Linked DNA regions of Homo sapiens: region 2 is linked to region 1. Evidence: promoter capture Hi-C in 16 types of primary human blood cells and fetal thymus (Javierre and others, 2016). All regions are on one chromosome and are shown on one strand. The core of a region is centred on a gene start or on the middle of the fragment in contact, and the rest is flanking DNA. Distances in the headings are between cores, read along the strand shown.

What was found. Contacts are between HindIII fragments. The CHiCAGO score rates a contact against its expected background, and 5 or more counts as called.
Region 2: a contact is called between a fragment that was not itself captured here and the fragment with the promoter of METAP1 in region 1, in 2 of 17 cell types (fetal thymus and total CD4 T cells). The highest score is 7.0, in fetal thymus.

What each region holds. Positions count from the first base shown.
Region 1 is chr4:98,993,948-98,998,447 of GRCh38, reverse strand. METAP1 (methionyl aminopeptidase 1) reads right to left here and starts at 2,727. Exons shown (of 11, transcript NM_015143.3): 1 at 2,581-2,727. The coding sequence starts at 2,694. MIR3684 (microRNA 3684) reads right to left here and starts at 1,061; the gene lies at 988-1,061. RefSeq lists enhancers at 1,532-2,314, 3,236-3,285 and silencers at 2,056-2,515, 2,676-2,995. The HindIII fragment of the contact is 4,143 bases long and covers 1,432-4,500 here.
Region 2 is chr4:99,402,485-99,407,331 of GRCh38, reverse strand. LOC102723576 (a long non-coding RNA gene) reads left to right here and starts at 1,952. Exons shown (of 5, transcript XR_939020.3): 1 at 1,952-3,011; 2 at 3,154-3,241; 3 at 4,364-4,499. RefSeq lists a silencer at 1,526-1,820, enhancers at 2,372-2,561, 3,535-3,679, 3,447-3,721, 1-4,338 and cis regulatory regions at 3,600-3,613, 3,658-3,669. The HindIII fragment of the contact is 4,923 bases long and covers 464-4,847 here.

The DNA of each region.
Region 1 (4,500 bases), core at 1,478-3,977:
AGGTTCAAGTGATTCTTGTGTCTCAGCCTCCTGAGTAGCTGGGACTACAGGCGTGTGCCACCACGCCCAGCTAATTTTTGTATTTTTAGTAGAGACAGGGTTTTGACATGTTGCCCAGTCTGGTCTCAAACTCCTGACCTCAGGTGATCCACCCGCCTAGGCCTCCCAAAGTGCTGAGATTACAGGTGTGAGCCACCATGCCCAGCCAAGCCCATATTTCATCACAGATGTATAAAGCGCTTAGAATAAGTTACAGTGACTTGATCAAGGTCTCAAGCTGGGATTGGGGGAACAGCTGTGATTTCAGAAGACAGGTGACACTTCGGAAAGGAAAGAATGTAAACATAGCCTTTGGCTAGAGCAAGAGGCTCAGAAGAGGGGCCCTGAATGTGGGGCTGGAATCCTGAAAGCAATGAGGGATACGCATAATCAGACTGCGGGAAAAATAACTTCTGTACAAAAGGTTTTGTTTGATAGGGTTTTTTGTGGGCGTTTGTTTGCAAGGGGAGGAATTACAGTAGAGAAATAAATTAAGAGAGTATGACAACTGATTTGGTGGGAAATTTTAAAAGCTGACCATAGGAGGTGGTAACAGAAATGAAGAAAAAGAGACAGTTGGGACAGCCACTCTGGGAATATTTGAGTGCATGTCTAACAGTGATACCAGAAATATACCTGCAGAATCCAACATGTAAATACCTCCAATCCTAACACACGGAATAAACCCTAGATGTTTTGTTTTCACAAATTTGTCTAGCATTTTTCCACAAACCCCAGTGATTCACCTTCTTTCTACCTGTTTCATGAATGTGGTTTCACACTACCTTTTTAAAATCTTAACAGAAGATTGTAATACATATTAATTCAAAATGCCACCTACTTTTAAAGTTATTCTACTCAGATGGTACAACTGTCAAAAGCAAACACTGTTTCTTAATTTCAGGTCCCACACAGGCCACAACAAGATAGAATTTGGGAATTTTAAAGAATCTAAAGGACGTGTACTAGGTCTAACATGAGTAATGCTCAACATGTTAAACCTAGTACAGGTCCTTTAGATTGTTCGGTAATGCTATTTTTAGATCAAGCAACACTCCTCCACGTGCAAGTTTTTCCAAATTATACTAACAAGGTCAAGGATCATATCCTATCTAAAAACAAGACTGTATAACACAGCTAAGACCTTTTGCAATCGCTTATCTACAAATATTGTGACGTAAAGATTGTATTTATTTATATCTTTACGTTTTTATGTTTTATGTTGGAAAACACTTTTATTATTTGTATTGTGTTCATATATCTGCCTTCATTCTTATTCATATTTTTATTTATGGCAGAGTTAAATCGTACTAGAATCCTTTAAAAAATAAAGGACTTTACATTATAACAGCATTTCACGTTCCTTGGATAATCTGGGTCTCAGAAGAAGCTTGTGAAACTTACAAAGAAAGCTATAATCATCCCCTCTGTACAGTGTAACACTGGAACTCAGAAAGATTAAGTAACTTTACTAATTCAAGATCGCACAATAACTGGCAAGGGCAGGGCCCCAATCAGGCCTTCTCTTTATTCCGGCTCTCCTCCCCACAGGACGCTACCAATTTAATATTTGAATATTCATGTGCCTCTCTTCACTAAACCTGGACTGTAACTAAGAGCCATACTATTGCCGCCCAGCCCTCATCCTGGGTCTCGAAATGCAGCAGCAACACTAGTACTCTTCAGTAAACAGAAACACGAGCACACGCTTCAGTCTGGACCCCATTCAACGCTGGGTTTGCTCTACTGCACAAAACTTAAAATACACTACAGCATTCACGCCTAACCCTCAATGGAACTGTCCTTTTCACTCTGGGAAATTCAGTCACAGGTGACTCATCCCGTTAGCTTACAGTTTTGTAAATTAATAATTTTATATACCGAAAGAAAAGAATGAATTACACAGACCTCTCCCTTCCCCACCCCCAAAGTTGCTTAAGTGTCAAAGCACGGTAGTAAAGCACAAAGAAGTGGGGCTGGAGCTAGCTAGCGTTCCTCCTCTCTGCGACTCCGACGGTCCTCGGGCCACCCATCTCTCAGAGCCCGGCAGGTAGCTTCAGCCCCCCACCCCGCAGGGACCCGACGGACGGCCCGGCGCCTCCAGCGCCCAGACCCGAGCCCCGCCGGTGCTGCGGATGTGGAGGCTCGCGACGCTCGGGCTGCCCTCCTTCCCGGCGCCGCTACCTGCCTCCGGCAGCCCGCACACCTGGCGGCCCCCGCCCCAGCGCGGGGAACCGGCCCCAGAACGCGGAGGTCTAGCGCGGCCACGCGACCCCGCACAGCCCGCTTCCGCCCCAGCCCACATGGCCGCGGCGGGTGGCGCCCCCGCCCCCGCGTGAGCCCAGCGCGGTTCCCGAGGACCCAGGGACCCCAGGAGGCAGGAGGGGGCGGTGGCGACGCGGGTGGGGGGAGGAGGAAACGCGGCCGGGGGGAAGAGGAGGAGCGCGTCCCGACTCGCCGCAAGGGCGGGAGGAGCCAGCAGGGGAGAAGCGAGGAGGGGTCCCGCAGCGGCGGCATATCCGCGGGGCAGCGGGCGCCTACCTGCGAGCAGAAGTACGAGCCCTGGATGCCCAGCTTGATGCAAGTGGGACACTGGAGCTTGGCCTCACTGCTGCAGCCGTCTGTCTCGCACACCCGCGTCTCCACGGCCGCCATGCTGCCTGCCCGCTGGAAGAGCGCCTCACCGAGGAAGAGGCGGCGGCGGGAGGGAGGAACTGCCGGGCGGAGGGGAGGGGAGAGAGACCGAGTCGGGGGAGGAGCTGGGCCCGCCGCTGGCCTGGGCGCGGGAGGGGGAGGAGCCAGGGCCGGCCGGGACCACGCAGCGCGCCCCGCCCCGGCCCCGCCCCCGCCCCGCGCGCGCAGCTGGTGCCCCGCCCCGCCGGCTTCGCCCCGCCCCCCGCCGGCGGTGCCTGCGTGCCCAAGCCTCCCGGCGGCGCGCACATTGGGGCTGTAAGGGAGCTCGGCAGGGCCCCCCCATTCGGCGCCTTCGGGCGTCGGCCAGCAGAGAACGCGACCTGCCGGCGCCTGACGGTGAGGAGCCGCCCTCTCGCGGCGCACTCTCTGTGCCTACAGTCAGATAAGACAGTCGTCTTCACTGACGAACACCCAGGAGCCCTGATCATCCCCGACACCCGCAGGAGGCTAGAGAGGGCGCTGCGCTCCTCTGCGTTGGATTCCCCCGCCGCTCCTTGGAGAACAGTCCCTTGGGTTAAGTTCTGTTTCTCACTGACATTGTCGGGTCTGAGGCCTAAGGACCACCGCTCATTCACAGAAAGGAGAGCCATAGAGCTGTCAACGGGACGGTGGGCTGGGATTCACATCTGCCCTCCCTCCTGCCAGACTTTTTTTTTCCACACACCACCACCTCCCCTTCAAAACCGATAGTGCTAGTAATAGTAACACAACTGTCAGGTATTCAATACAAATAATTTTTTTGTATAATCCCAGTTGATTGCTTCAGCAGTAAATAGGGGAGAATTGTGCTGATCCTGAAATGTCAGAGTCGAAAGAAGCTGTAAAGGCCTTCCCCTGCGAACCTGTTGCTTCAATCTTTTCAGCTGTATTCCAGGTCGGTTGTGTTGTAACTCATGCTTGAGTGCCTCCTTGTCACTAGGGAAGAGCGAAAAACTAACATTTACTGATCACAAAAGGCTGTGAACTTTGTTATTGTATTTTTTTAACTTCTCCGTACTTAATACACCAGAAAAGCTCATACTACTTTTATTTTTAAGAACTTTGTTTTGGCTAGGAGCGGTGGCTGACGCCTGTAATCAATCCCAGCACTTTGAGAGGCCAGGGCATCCAGGGCACCAAGGCCAGCGGATTCTTTGAGGCCAGGAGTTCGAGACCAGGGTGGAAATATGGCAAAACCCCGTCTCTACAAAAACTAAAACTAAAAACTAAAAAATTAGCCGGGCATGGTGGCAGGCGCCTGTAGTCCCAGCTACTGAGGAGGCTGAGCTGGGAGGATCTGTTGAACCTGAGAAGTCAAGGATATGGTAAGCTATGATCCTGCCACTGCACTCCAGCCCAAACGGCAGAGCAAGACCATGTCTCAAAAAAAAAAAAACTTAGTTTTGCAATATAAGCAGTAAAAATGATGTAATAAAATCAAGTAATAGAAATGTTTACATGCATACATACATATACTTTTGTATACAAGAAAAAAATCAATAAGTATGTATGTATGTATAAAATATTTTTTAAATAAAAACTGCACCATACCATATAAAGTAATTTACTTACCTGATTTCTTCAGTTACTATGATGTCAACTTTTTGTTTGTCGTTTGGTTTTTCTTTGAGACAGCATCTCATCCTGTCAACCAGGCTGGAGTGCAGTGGTGCTCACAGTGAGAGGTGACAGCGAGGTGACAGCATGCTGGCAGCCCTCGCAGCCCTTGCTTGCTCTCGGTGCCTCCTGGCCTCAGCTCCCATTCTGGCCGTGCTTGAGGAGCCCTTC
Region 2 (4,847 bases), core at 1,676-4,175, 410 kb before region 1:
TGAATCTCTTTCCTTTATAAATTACCCATCCTTGGGCAGTTCTTTATAGCAGTGTGAGAATGAACTAATACATCCACATTCTCTCACTTCAAGCCTTAGAGCAGGATACCTCACGGTCCCAGCATGGACAGGATGTGTAGAATGTAGAGGAGATGCTCTGTTCATTGTGACCAGCTCTGCTTGAGCCCCAGCAGATTCTTGTTCATGTAGGAGAGAGGGGAATAGACCACCACCTGAAAAGGATGGAGGTAATGCCAAACACCTAGGCGTAGGTTTTATCTCTGCCCTCCTTCTTTCCATCAGAGCAGGAACTCTTTCTTATTCCTCCGTTTTCTTTAAGAAGAAGGATACTTATCTTTCATTGGCTTGTTTCTCTCTTAAAATCAAGGCAGAGGATTCAGGGTCTAATTACCATGGATTTACCTCCATTATCATTCATTGGAGACAAGCTCGGTTCTAAGCTTAGTTCTACTTTGGGAATTACGATATTCTTCTGGTGAGATTTACTGAGTTTCAAAATGTTTACTCAGTACTCACCAAAAACATGGTCTTTGTGACTTAATTTTTCATTTTTCTTTAGAAAATCACCAATACTTAAAGAGAAATTTTGCTATCTTCTTGTCTTTCTTCAGGATAATTACAAAGAGAACTTCAAGAAATTTCACATACCTTGCCTCTTGTCTTACTCCCTTCAGATATAGCTTTCCCACTGTCCCCAGACTGTAATATCCAAAAGGCAAATCTGACCATGCCACTTCTGCTTAATAAATATTCAGGGGCTTTACTTTGCCTCCAAGATTATTAATAGGCATCAAGGGCCCCTCGAGATGGGTTCCCATTGCTCCCTGCACTACCCAACATTCTCAGACAACATTAAAATGCTGCGCACACCATGCAGGGTTTTATTTTCTTTCTTGCTTTCTGTCTTGCTACTCCTCCTCCTTGAATATTCTCTCATCCTTCCCCTTTGTCTTGGCAAATTCCTGCTCATTTTTTAGGGTTTAGTTTTATCTTCACTCCTCCAGAATATCTCCTCTGATCTCAATGTGTCTGCTGTCTCTTTGTAACCTGGTATAAGTCTCTTTTCGTGTATCATGTTATCATTTAATTTTCTGTTTATGTGTTTGTTCTTTCACAGGTCTATTCATCTAACTCCAGCCGCTGGCAGAGAAGCTAACAAGAATAGAGATCCACCAGTGTTTCTTTTCTTTTCTTTCCTTTTTTTTTTTTTTTTTTTTGAGGTTCTCCATACTCGATTTTTAAAAAATAATTTTTCTCTTTCTTTTTCTTTTTCCTTTTTTTAATTTCAATAGATTTGTGGGAAACAGGTGGTGTTTGGTTACACGAATAAGTTCTTTAGTGGTGAGTTCTGAGATCTTGGAGCACCCATCACTTGAGCGGTGTACACTGTACCACCCTTCTCCCACCCTTTCCCCTGAGTCCCCAAAGTTCACTGTACCATTGTTATGCTTTTGCGTCCTCATTTGCGTTCCCACTTATGAGTGAGAACATACAGTGTTTGGTTTTCCATTCCTGAGTTACTTCACTTAGAATAATGGTCTCTAATTCCATCCAGTTTGGGCCTTTCAGGATTGGTTTCCTCTGCAGTACTTATGAGGGCAGGAAGGTGGCAGCATTTAGCTATCAGTGAGTTCATGCTGACGCTAGGAAGAGAAACAGAAATAACCACTCCTATCTTGGGACATTTTTCCAACTGCCTTGATTGCTTCTCTTTTCCAGCAGAACTGAGAAAATAAGGCCACAGTTGAGAATTTTGTGCTTGATGGAGACATCAAACCCAGAAATGCTGGACTGGCTGAGCAACTTGAGTAAAGCTCATCCTCCCACTTTTGTCATGCAGGCCCTGGGAACTGCTTTAGGAATGAGAAAAATGGACATAAAATGATCTGATCAGTATGTAAATTATTATCTTGCTTACAGTTTCATATACTAAGGGAATTATTGGGGGAGATTGCTTATATCTTCAATGTGACTTCAAGTCTATCTTTTTATACTTTATTTGCATTTATTAGTGTTTAATCCCACAGAATGATCCCATTCTCCTATTTTAAGTGTTCTAATTCCCGCACACAATTCCTCTACCTATAGGTTCTAAATTTATAATTGTAGGTTGAAAGAATGGTTTTGTTCATTCAACCCTAAGCATTCAGTGGTTGCTACATTCTTCATGTTACATTTTCTCAGTTCCTTATGTTGGTTAACGTCTTACTGATTAGGCTGAGAACTAGAATTTCCATCACAGTAGTACTCATGCTGAGTAGTCACTGCTTATTGATTTGTCTGGTGGAAAACCTGAAGGTAGGACCTGTATCAGTCAGGGTCTTAGCAGGGAACCCCTGTTTAATCAAGTTAGGGCTTAATGGGAGATAATTTTCTTTCCAGAGGTACAGGCAGGGTTAATCACTCCAATAAGGGATGTTGAAGTATCCAGGGTTTCGCTACAGTGGGAAGCTATTATTGCCCCTAGGCCTGAAGGTCGATGACAAGGAAGTTACTAGAATCTGGCAAGTGATGGAGTGGAGCTATAGCCAAGGGGCTGCCTGAGAGGAGCAGTGGCCAAATGTGATTGAGAATTGCTGGTGAAATGATTCACCAACCACAGGAAGAGGCTGACCATCATAGACCACATTTCAATGACTTATGTTTCATTAATGAGTCATCATCAATTTCTCTTTCATTTTGATAGCCCCCTCTTAGGATTCAGGTTTTGAGGTAACTCTTCTACTAGACAACATTTTAAAGTAGTAACTATTTTTCTCATTGCTATTAACCAAGCCACACATTAATGCCGAGCTTCTGTTAAGTAAAAAATAACTAGGGATACCAGACTGAGTTTTTCAGCCCAGTCAGAAGAAAAGCAATTTGACATACTGTTACCCTTTGCAGTCTTAGCAAGAGAAAGACAATGCGCTTGTTTATTGTCTAAATTAGCACTTTGCCCCTGATACTCCTCAAAGCTGAAAGACCCTCTAAGATCAAGAACTGATGAAGTAAGTCTTCAGATTTGATAAACTGGTGTTCTATAGGGAAATTAAAGCCAATGTGAAATTTGCAGTTGACTTTTGTGATGACTACCTTCCCCTTTTAAATTCTGAGTGTATTATGCATTTAAATATAAATTGGTCTTTTCAGGGCTATAGAAAAATGTGCTGCTCAAAAGGAGATTTCCATCTCGAAAAGGCAAATTACTGGGAAAAATGAATCTGTTTTCTCTGCCAAGGTAAGCTACTAATTTATGAAACACGCTGGGGACTTGAAGCAGGATATTCGGCACCACACCTTCTGATCACACCCACTCTTTGTTGAGTAGCTGGATTCTGTTTTCTCATTTAACACATGGTTTCTTTCCCTAAAAATGAGAATGAAAAATCTTGCTCTTTGAGAAACAAAGTTGGAACTTTGTGTATTTTTTATGGCATTATTTTGAGTATGAGTTTTGAGGTAACTATTTTCAGATTCCAGGAAGCTATGAGGCCATATCTAGTTTCAGAGTTGCATTGCTGTTACAGGCTCAGCATTAGGTAACATATTTTGTTTTCAGTCTGTTTCAGCTCCAGTATTGACTGGTTTCTCTCTCTTGAACTTTGCATCCACAATTCAGTTTAGGGAGAGTCAAGAACATAAGTGTTTTAATCATTAACCATTAACTTTTAAAGCACCGTTAATCCCGTGTATGATTAGCTCAGCTTTCAGAATCAGAATTCAGAAATATGGTAAAAATCACCAGGACAAACTTCTAACAGTTTTCACAAGTATTCCCAAAGTGATGATCAAAGCCTACAGTAACAGATCTTTTAAAAGAAGGGGCTTCCTTATGGGCTGGGCCCCCCCAACAGGGGTAGTTGATTAAGAAAATCTTACCACTTTCTTACAACTTTATAGAAAATAAGTCATGTTAAAGCACAGGGGTAGTGAAAGGAGTGTTTAAGAAGTGGTCTCAACTGAGGTTTTGGGGTGCCAGTGGAGCTCCTTTGCCTTGGTTCCAGCAGAAGAGTGATGCATGTGAAGCATGTGGTTATGAGTGCCCCAGGTCCTTTTGGGCTTTAGCTGCTTACCACATGGTGAAAAGGAATGGTGATAGAAATCCAAAGTGAACTTTTTAATATTATTATTATGGCTTTATATATAGTCAAAAGAGCTCACCTTCTTCTCCTAGCTCAGACATGGGTTTGGCTAAGGCAGGAGAAATGGGGTTGGGGAGGTTGGGAGCAGGGCATGCAATGCTCTTCTGAAAAAATAGGGACATAAAGGAGATATGCCCGCAACTCTCCATCAGGTTGAAGGATTCTTTCTATTAGCCTTTCAGCATTTGGATCCTTATGATTTTGGTGCTTCTCTGTAGCATTGGAGACATAGAAGGAGACTGCCTCCTGCTGGGGTCAGTATTTTCTGCATCCCATGAACGGAAGTGAGAACAGCCTTGGGAGCTAATGCCGAAGGTGGGAGAATCTGATGCCCTCAGTCTCCAGTGAACTAAAGTAAGAGTCTTACTACTTTCAGTGCTTGGGAACTGCTGCAATACATGGGCTGCTCCAACTTATTTCCTTAAACCTCCACTCACCAGATTTTCAGATGCTGCACAGGTGGAATGGTGGATCAAGTTCTAAATGTCACATGACTGTCTTGTTTAGTTATATGTTGGGTGTAGCCCGTGGAGTACTCAGGCCCTAAAGAAACCCTTTTGGATGAATAAACATCCCAGAGTCCTTATGCTAGTTCTACCTGTGAGGTGTTTGCTACGGTCTGAAAGTTTATGTAACCCCAGCACTCATATGTTAAAATTCTAAAACCCCCAATCCCCTTGATAGTATTTGGAGGCAGAGCCT